3 separate regions of the Homo sapiens genome follow, and all the other regions are linked to region 2. Evidence: promoter capture Hi-C in 16 types of primary human blood cells and fetal thymus (Javierre and others, 2016). All regions are on one chromosome and are shown on one strand. The core of a region is centred on a gene start or on the middle of the fragment in contact, and the rest is flanking DNA. Distances in the headings are between cores, read along the strand shown. Region 1 overlaps WNK1 (WNK lysine deficient protein kinase 1). Region 2 holds the start of NINJ2-AS1 (NINJ2 antisense RNA 1). Region 3 overlaps WNK1 (WNK lysine deficient protein kinase 1).

Region 1 (3,038 bases), core at 433-2,932, 180 kb after region 2:
CCTGTATTTATAGTATAGATGTCTTCTGGGCAAATTAGAGATAAAATATTCTAAATATTTCTATGGAATTTTTAGATTGTCATTCAGTGTATTCTCAAGGAAAATTAAATACGGATTTTTGATGGCAAAGAAGTCCCCCGTTTTTTTCCCTCTATGCTTTGCTATAAATAAGTAGTTGGCAGCTTTTTTACAATAAGCTTTTACAAACCATTTTTAAAAATCAAAAGCTGGGACCTTTGCAAGTTGATCATTCTGTATGGGTTGTGTTGGACTTAACTGAGACTCAGAGGCCCAATTTCAATTCTCATTTTTCTTTTAAGTCACAGGAATTTTTTATCCTTGGGGAAATGCTAACTGCTTATTAAGGACACACACACACACTTTTAAAGGGGTATTGAGGGGAAAAGACATTTATGGAATTCATTCAACAAATGGCTGTTGAACAAGTCACTATGCTAGGTTGTCAGGTGCTAAAGATAGAACACAAAAAGGTATCTTGTCACTGCCTTTTCATGACAAAAAGCCTCTGAGGGCTTATTCTATGGGGGATAAGAGTCAATATAATGTTGCCTGTGATTAAGTGTTATGTAAGAGGCATGTACATAGTATCCATTGGTTTTAATGCTATTGGGCAGAGTAGAAACAGGAGTAGTAACTTGGTTTCCTTTTATTACATTCCTTATTGGGTACTTTTGGCGACAGAGTGAGAACCTTAAAGTTCAATTAATAATTGATGTAATAACTGAAGAGAAAAATTAATGAACAGGAAGGTAGATCAGAAAACATTGCCCAGAAAGTAGCATACAGAAGGAAATGGAAAATGAGAGAGAAATTAAAGGATATTAAGGATAAACTAAAGTTATACACATACTCACACACATTTAAAAATTGTTTAAAAAGAAAAGAAGAGTTGGAAGGGGAAAAAAAGAGAATGAGAGGAGACAGTGTTTAGAGAGATACTGAGAATTTTCCTGACTTGAAGACAAATACTTGAGTATTTAAGTTATTGCTTAAAAGAAAAAAAAAATTAGGCTTCATGCAGTGGCTCACACCTGTAATCCCAGGCTTTGGGATGCCAAAGTAGGAGGATCACCAGAAGTTCAAGACCAGCCAGTGCATCATAGCAAGACCTCATCTCTACAAAAAATTAAAAAATTAGCCGGGCAAGGTGGCACATGCCTGTAGTCCTAGCTACTCTGGAGGCTGAGGTGGGAGGATCCCTTGAGCCCAGGATTTGAGGCTGCAGTGAGCTATGATAGCACCGCTGCATTCCAGCCTTGGTCACAGAGTGACTTCCTGTCTTTTAAACAAACAAACAAAAATAAAAACAATGTTTTGGTTAAAGATAGATTGATTTTAATCAAGGCAAAGATAGAACTGGAATTTATATTTAGGTCTTTGCCTCCAAAGCCTATGTTCATTTCCTGACATTAAATTGCATGTCTAGCAATTGATGACTTATGTTGGATATGGAAAGTTAACTGCACCTTACAAAAATGAGACTATATCTGAGTTACACATTAACAGTAAAGATACTAAAATGATCTCAAGCATGAATGTATATAATCCAAATCTATCATTTATAACTTCAGCATTTGCATTTTTTAAACACCATCGATCATGATTTAGTAATGTTTAAGTGTCTAAGATTAACTGTCTGATTTGGTGTTTTATCATTTTAAACCACATTCTGTTTTGGTTTTTGATTTTAGGATCGAAAATTAACAAAGTCTGAGAGGCAGAGATTTAAAGAAGAAGCTGAAATGTTAAAAGGTCTTCAGCATCCCAATATTGTTAGATTTTATGATTCCTGGGAATCCACAGTAAAAGGAAAGAAGTGCATTGTTTTGGTGACTGAACTTATGACGTCTGGAACACTTAAAACGTAAGTTCATCAGTATTACAAAAGCTGACCAAGAAGTATGAGAGAATTTGATTTTTTAAATTTCAGGTCTACCAGTTTCACTTTGGTTGTTCAGCCTAAGAAGGGAACAGTCCTTCCAACTGTTACTGTATTAGCATATTTCCTTGCCCACAAAGTCCTCTAGTATATAAAGTGATTTGATAATTATTTCTTGGTAAGTATTGAAATGAGAAGTTATGGCCGAGTGTGGTGGCTCATGCCTGTAATCCCAGCACTTTGGGAGGCCGGGGCAGGCGGATCACCTGAGGTTGGATCACCTGAGGTCAGGAGTTCGAGACCAGCCTGGCCAACGTGGTGAAACCCCGTCTCTACTAAAAGTACAAAAATTAGCCGGGCATGGTGGCGTGCACCTGTAACCCCAGCTACTTGGGAGGCTGAGGCAGGAGAATCGCTTGAACCTAGGAGGCGGAGGTTGCAGTGAGCTGAGATCACCTCACTTCATTCCAGCCTAGGTGAGACTCTGTCTCCAAAAAAAAAAAAAAAGAGTGGCTAAGGAATCAGAAATCAAATGTCAAGGTAGCCCTCTAGTGGTTAAAATGAGATTAAGGTTTATTGAGAAACTACCTATTTTTTTCATTTGTATTGTGCTTTGCTATATCCCTGCAACTTTTATATCAGATGCAGATTATATTGTGACAGTTATCACTTAAAAAATACTTTTAGTTCCATTTCCCATAACATCAGAAATTAATCCCCAAATAGCTAGATCTATCATTCCTTTCACAGAAATAGGTTTAATGCAGAAATTTCCCGTTACTTATTGTAAAGAGCTTTTGGTAAGTGTTGGAGTATGCCTTTGTAATCCCAGGTTTCTTAGAGCAGCAGTCCCCAACCTTTTTGGCATCAGGGATTGGTTTCATGGAAGACAGTTTTTCCATGAACTGGTGCGGGGGTGGGGCTGGGGAAGTTTGGAATGATTCAAGCACATTACATTTATTGTGCACTCTATTTCTATTATTATTACATTAAAATATATAATGAAATAGTTATACAACTCACCATAATGTAGAATCAGTGGGAGCCCTGAGCTTGTTTTCCTGCAACTCAACTGTCCCATCTGGGGGTGATGGGAGACAGGGCAGATCATCAGGCATTAGATTCTCATAACGAACGC
Region 2 (3,285 bases), core at 302-2,801:
TTGCACCGAGGCAGTCTGGCTCTGTTCTCCATTGGCCACTGCGATGCCACCTGGGTGGAGGGAGCACAGGTCCAATGGCGGGGAGAGTACAGTACAACCCAGGATCCTGTCTTCCAGGTCTCTCCACGCAATTAACCTACTCAAAACTTCATGACAGTCCAGCAAGCTTGTCCAACCCACAGCCTGTGGGCCCCGTGCAGCCCAGGACGGCTTTGAACGCGGCCCAAAACAAATTCGTAAATTGTCTTAAAACATTATGAGTTCTTGGTTGGGCATGGTGGCTCACGCCTGTAATCCCAGCACTTTGGGAGGCCGAGGCAGGTGGATCACCTGAGGTCAGGAGTTTGAGACCAGCCTGACCAACATGGAGAAACCTCGTCTCTACTAAAAATGCAAAATTAACCAGGCCTGGTGGCGCATGCCTGTAATCCCAGCTACTCAGGAGACTGAGGCAGGAGAATCACTTGAACCTGGGAGGCAGAGGTTGTGGTGAGCCGAGATCGTGCCGTTGCACTCCAGCCTCGGCGACAAGAGCAAAACTCAAAAAAAAAAAAAAAATATATATATATATATATATATATATGAAGTTTCTTTGCGATTTTTTAAAAGTGTATCAGCCATTGTTAGTGTTGCTGTATTTTATGTGTGGGGCAAGACAATTCTTCCAATGTGGCCCAGGGAAACAAAACAATTGGACACCCTGGATGATGAAAAAGAGCACTCTTCAGCCCCTGCTGTCACCAAAGCCCCACCTCAGTTCTTGCCCTTAGGTAACGCCAAGATAGCAAAATGGAATTTTACCAAACCGCTCTTAGGTTCCTTCCCCAGGAGACCAGAAATGCCCTGGGGACTGCCTGCCTTTGAGGCAAATTTTTTTTCCTTTTTAAAGAAAGTGGTAAACATCTGAAAATAGAGTTTTTGAAAGAAAGTGACTCTTCAGTTGTAATTATAGCAGAGAGGGTCATTGCTTTCTATCAGCAAGAAAGCTGCTTCTATTTTTTTTTATTCTCTTTTTCTTGGTTTTTTGTTTTGTTTTGTTTTGTTTTGTTTTTTGAGACGGAGTCTCGCTGAGTTGCCCAGGCTGGAGTGCAGTGGTGTGATCTCGGCTCACTGCAAGCTCCATCTCCCGGGTTCAAGCGATTCTCCTGCCTCAGCCTCCCGAGTAGCTGGGACTGCAGGCTCCGGCCACCACGCCTGGCTAATTTTTTTTGTATTTTTAGCACAGACGGAGTTTCACCATGTTGACAGGCTGGTCTCGAACTCCTGGCCTCAGGTGATCTGCCCGCCTCGGCCCCCCAAAATGCTGGGATCACAGGCGTGAGCCACCGCTCCCCGCCGCTGCTTCTAAATACAGCCTGTATAATGCAAATCCCCAAAGAGGGCCAGCCTCTGGCCCCATTCAGCTTCCTCCCTCAGAGGCTGGGTGCGTGCGCCCTGGGCGGGGCGGCGGGCTCCCTCCGGAGAGGCCCCAGCCCGGCCTCGTGCCCCTCCCCAGCAGGCTTCCGGCCCTGCGCACAGACCCAAATGGCGCGGGAGGAGGAAGAAGGGGTCAGCTTCAAGCCTGACGTTCTAGGGGGGAGCCGCTTCTTAAGTACGTGCTAGGATCAAGGGTGCATTTGCAAACTTTTCAAAATGCCTTAGAGGAGGTAGGAGTCAAGCCCTTGGGATCTGGAGGGGAAGGAGGAGAGTCAGTTAAACCGCAGAAAGGTTGGTGGGGAGTGGGCTCAGTAATGGCCCCTGTCACAGCCTCGGGCCGGGACTCGCCAGCTCATTTTCTATTTCTAACTCAATGCCAGGCACTGAGCACTGTGCTCAACCTAGTAATTTGGAGACGGAGGTGGATATGCATATAACAGAACAGGATGCTCTCCGGACAAACGTTCTGAAGGAAAAGCAAACGGAAGATCCTCCCGCCTCTGCTGGGCAGTCTCTAATGACCCCTGGGGTATGTTCCAGACATGCGTGGGCATCTGCGAATTTACTCACCTGAGAGCTGCCTCTACCTTTTTTTGTTAAATTTTTATTTATTTATTTATTTATTTTGAGACGGAGTCTCCCTCTGTCACCAGGCGGGAGTGCAGTGGCGTGATCTCTGCTCAATGCAACCTCCGCCTCCCGGGCTCAAGCGATTCTGCTGCCTCAGCCTCCCGAGTAGCTGGGAGTACAGGCGCGCGCCACCACGCCCAGCTAATTTTTATATTTTTAGTACAGACGGGGTTTCACCATGTTGGCCAGGATGGTTTCTATCTCTTGACCTCGTGATCCGCCTGCCTCGGCCTCCAAAGTGCTGGGATTACAGGCGTGAGCCACCGCGCCTGGCCTGCCTCTACCTCTGATCCCTGGGATCAGAAATGAGAAATGCAAAGATTGTCCCTGTGTTATGTGTGTACTGTTTGTAATTGTAATTCACAATCCCCTTTCTTGCTCCTCACCCCATATTCAATTAAGAGAGAAAGGTGAAAAACACAAAGCACAAAATGTTTCCAGGAAACTATCTGAAACTCCTGGAAGGCTAGATTTAGGTATAAACAGAGTAGAACTCCAGATTTCTGCAATGCTCCTTAGGGGCTGAGCTTCCTGCATGCCCTTGACAATTAGAGGAGTTTTTTTTAATACTTCAAAATTATTCCAGAAAGGCATGCAGATGAGAAGATAACCAGGTTATGAGGAAGCCCAAGGTATTTGGTAAGGATGCTCAAGTTTTGGGGAAGGTCAGCTGAAATAGCAATTTGTGGGTGGACTATTAGCAGGGAGTTGACTGGAGAATTAATCAGACGTTGAAGGGACATGGGGGACCCGGGAGGATGAAGTCTGAACTCGGGCTCAGGATATGGAAAAAGATTGAGTAAAGCTGAGATTCCTGTGTGCTTAAAGTCCTAACCAGCCCCAGGGTGTCTGAGGCACGCTGGTAAGTAGAATCAGAGATTCCATTCAGCAAAAGCAGACAGGAAAACAAATCTCTTTTCTTTGTTTGTCCTGGTTGAAAACCAAACACGGTAGCCGTTTGATGAAATTCCAGTGTCAGGAGTGTTTGGGCAGGGAAGGGAGGGTAAAATTGCAGCTAGCCTCTGACCACAGGGAAATCAGCCTAACGGCTCCATTCAGGCCATTCTTCAGCCCTGCACTCTGGAATGTTCACAGGGTGTCTGTGCATCTCCCCTGATTCCAGCCCACAGGACACTTGCTCTCTCTTTCTTGTGACCCCAACATGTCAGCTGGCAAGACTCAACATTCCTGTCTGGGACTGAGCAGCTTGAACCACTTGTATGAGTCACAGGTAATTTT
Region 3 (3,312 bases), core at 783-3,282, 160 kb after region 2:
AAATAATTCTCTTTGCTTAACACATTCCCTTTTTATATTGTCATTCTTTTTTCACATTTGTTTTATTTGTTCCTCTATCTTCCCTTTTTTTTTTTTTTTGAGACAGAATTTCACTCTTGTTGCCCAGGCTGGAGTGCAGTGGCACAATCTTGGCTCACTGCAACTTCTGCCTCATGGGTTTAAGTGATTCTCCTGCCTCAGTTTCCTGAGTAACTGAGATTATAGGCTCCTGCCACCAGGCCTGGCTAATTTTTGCATTTTAGTAGCGACAGGGTTTCATCATGTTGGTCAGGCTGGTGTCGAACTCCTTACCTCAGGTGATCCACCCACCTTGGCCTCCCAAAGTGCTGGGATTACCAGTGTGAGCCACTGTGCCTGGCCCTTTATCTTCTTTTTTATGTCATTTTAATTTTGATGTGTTTCTTATAAATAAACAGTGTTTAGACTTTTTTTTAAAGCCTGTTCCACAGGTTTTTTGTAATAGAGAACTTTAACGTACATTTATAGTAATAATTGGTATGTTTGGAGTTGGTCTTCTTCCTGCCTTCTATGTGTTTTAATTGGTATGTTTGGAGTTGGTCTTCTTCCTGCCTTCTATGTGTTTTATTTCTGCCTTGCCTTTCTTAGATAGATTTATTTTCTTTGCATTTTACACCTAGTAGTCTATCTTTTATGTAATTTTCATTATTTAAGTGACTTAAATGAAATTATGTATTTTTCATTGTTAATTTTTAAAACACCTACATATTAGACTATAAATCTACTTTATAAAAATAAAATTATTTCTCTACTTTTATAGGTGGTATTGTGGAATGGCAAAGCACAGACTCTAGAACAAGGCAGCTTCTGTTTACACCTTGGCTTGGCTTTGCCACTTTTTTATTGTAATCCTCTTGTGCATCCATTTCTTTTTTGGTTAAAGTAGAGATGGGGTCTCACTGTTGCTGATCTGAAACTCTGGGCTCAAGTGATCCTCCTGCCTCAGCCTCCCAAAGTGCTAGGATTTCAGGCGTGAGCCACCAAGCCCACGTAGGTACCTACTTCACAGAGGTGTTGTTGAGTTTAAATATGTTAATATATGTAAAGCACCAGAACAGGGTCTGGAAGTCAATAAATGTTAGCTATTATTAGGTGTCAGTTATTAACAAAAGCTTGAAACTACATTATTAGCGTAGTTCTTGTGGGTTCCTGTGTTTAATGCTTGCCTGGTTCTTAACCTATATTAGCTTTCTGTGTGTTTAAAAAAAATCTTTATCTTTTGTGTAAGTCGGTTTTCCTTATTCTTACACACTTTAATGTATGTAGGCTGCTCTGTTGTAAAGACCATCTGTCTTCTGCTGGGCTGAGGACCTCTGTGCATTTCCACTCTTTGACCATCTCAGGACAGGCACAACAAAAAAATGTTAAAAACTTAGATGTTGTCATGGATATGTGGATGCTTTACATTGTGTGTGTGTGCGTGTGTGTGTAATTTTAGTGTGAAAAATGGTATCAGGTTTCTCCAAGGCAACAAAACCATTAGGAGATTTTGTATATAACAGATAGATATTATATGTAATTTCAAGGAATTAGTTTACTTGGTTGTTGGGGCTGGCAAGTCTGAAATCTGTCTTCTGGTTGAGCTGGCCATTGGGTTGGGAACTCTAGCACAGGAGCTGATGCTGCACCTTTAGCCAGGATTTCTCAGGAAATCCCAGTTTACTGCCTTGTAAGTGATTAGATGAGACCCAACCACATAATTGAGGGTAGTCTCCTTTACATAAAGTCAGCTGATTGTAGGTTTAACCATATCTACAAAAATACCTTTATAGCAACACCTAGTTAGTATTTGATAGAATAATTGAATACTGTGGCAAAATTGTAACATAAAACTAACCATCACAGATGAGTATATTATTTCACAATAGATTGTCCTTCATATCAGCTTCTTGAAATTAAAAAAAAAGCTACTGTGTGTAATACTATATGGAAATTAAACATTGTCCATATTTTTAGTAAAATAATAATTCATAGTTATACTCTGCTAACATGAGATCAACTTATGCACTAATGGACCATATTTCTAAAAGTTTGTGAGTTGTTTGTTGACTTAAGTGAGAAAGGCCTGTAATGCCAGTACCGGAAATGATTGTTCCCAGAATAACCAGCAAAAGCTGATACCCAGACAGTATATCTGAAATATGTTACATATGAAAAATATATTTAAAAATGAAAGTGAGAGGACCGGGTGAGGTGGCTCACGCCTGTAATCCTAGCACTTTGGGAGGCCGAGGCAAGTGGATCACAAAGTCAGGTGTTTGAGACAAGCCTGGCCAAAATGGTGAAACCCCGTCTCTACTAAGAATATAAAAATTAGCCGGGCGTGGTGGCAGTTGCCTGTAATCCCAGCTACCCAGGAGGCTGAGGGAGGAGAATTGCTTGAACCCAGGAGGCGGAGGTTGCAGTGAGCCGAGATCGTGCCACTACACTCCAGTCTGGGTGACAGAGCAAGACTCTGTCTCGGGGGGGAAAAAGAAAGGTAAGTGAGCAAACATCTGTTTGGTGCCAGTAATATTAATAGTTTAGACTTTAACCTTTGCTTATAACAGTTTTTGTGGGAAGGTTTATTAGTTGGTTCTCAAATGTGAAGGCCACATGCTTCCTTCAATTAAGGCATAATAATGAAAGGACATACTGAGGCTACATTACATCTTTGTTGGTGAAATCAGGAGTAGAGGAAAGGGTAGAAACTAGAACAGATACAGATTGGGAAGTGGAGAGGTAAGATTCTTAGCCCATAATTTTCAGAGAAAGTAGTTGTTTGTTGATGGCACCAAACAGGGCTCCTGATTTATGATAAAGAATCATACATTTGGTAAAAGTTACAGTCTGAAGTACAAAACCCCAATGATTTTCCATTCTAGTGCTTCAGTGAGAAGCTTAACAGTGTACTATGTATAGGTAGATAAGAATAAAGTAAAAGACAGAATTCTTTGCTGTTAAAATGAAAGAATAACTTTTACTTAGCATAGTATGGTAGTATACTAATAAATGGTACACACTGCTAGTCATAAAATTTAGATTTTGTCCCCAGTTCTACCTGTATACCTGTATTATTAGTCCTTTGTTCTCTGTTCAGTGTCCTAGTAGAAACTGTGTGGTTATACTCCTTTTTTTTTTTTTTTTTTTTGAGACAGAGTCTCGCTCTGTCACTCAGACTGGAATGCAGTGATTCAATACTCACTGCAGCCTCAAACTCCTGGGCTCAAGCAGTCCTCCCACTGAGTAGCTGAGACTACAGGTGTATGCCACCAAACGCCAGGCTAAGTTTTT

Evidence for each region. Contacts are between HindIII fragments. The CHiCAGO score rates a contact against its expected background, and 5 or more counts as called.
Region 1: a contact is called between a fragment that was not itself captured here and the fragment with the promoter of NINJ2-AS1 in region 2, in 2 of 17 cell types (total CD8 T cells and total B cells). The highest score is 5.6, in total CD8 T cells.
Region 3: a fragment that was not itself captured here is called in contact with the fragment with the promoter of NINJ2-AS1 in region 2 in 2 of 17 cell types (activated CD4 T cells and naive CD4 T cells); the score reaches 5.3 in activated CD4 T cells.

The regions. Positions count from the first base shown.
Region 1 is chr12:811,930-814,967 of GRCh38, forward strand. WNK1 (WNK lysine deficient protein kinase 1) reads left to right here. Exons shown (of 28, transcript NM_018979.4): 2 at 1,713-1,885. Among named protein-coding and RNA genes, the nearest start is that of WNK1, 61 kb to the left of the region's middle. The HindIII fragment of the contact is 2,974 bases long and covers 196-3,038 here.
Region 2 is chr12:629,340-632,624 of GRCh38, forward strand. It overlaps NINJ2-AS1 (NINJ2 antisense RNA 1), which reads left to right and starts at 1,552. Exons shown (of 5, transcript NR_122124.1): 1 at 1,552-1,646; 2 at 2,875-2,908; 3 at 3,170-3,277. The region is part of intron 1 of NINJ2 (ninjurin 2); the gene reads right to left. RefSeq lists silencers at 1,338-1,417, 1,478-1,577. The HindIII fragment of the contact is 3,290 bases long and covers 165-3,285 here.
Region 3 is chr12:786,386-789,697 of GRCh38, forward strand. The region is part of intron 1 of WNK1 (WNK lysine deficient protein kinase 1); the gene reads left to right. Among named protein-coding and RNA genes, the nearest start is that of WNK1, 35 kb to the left of the region's middle. The HindIII fragment of the contact is 1,767 bases long and covers 1,150-2,916 here.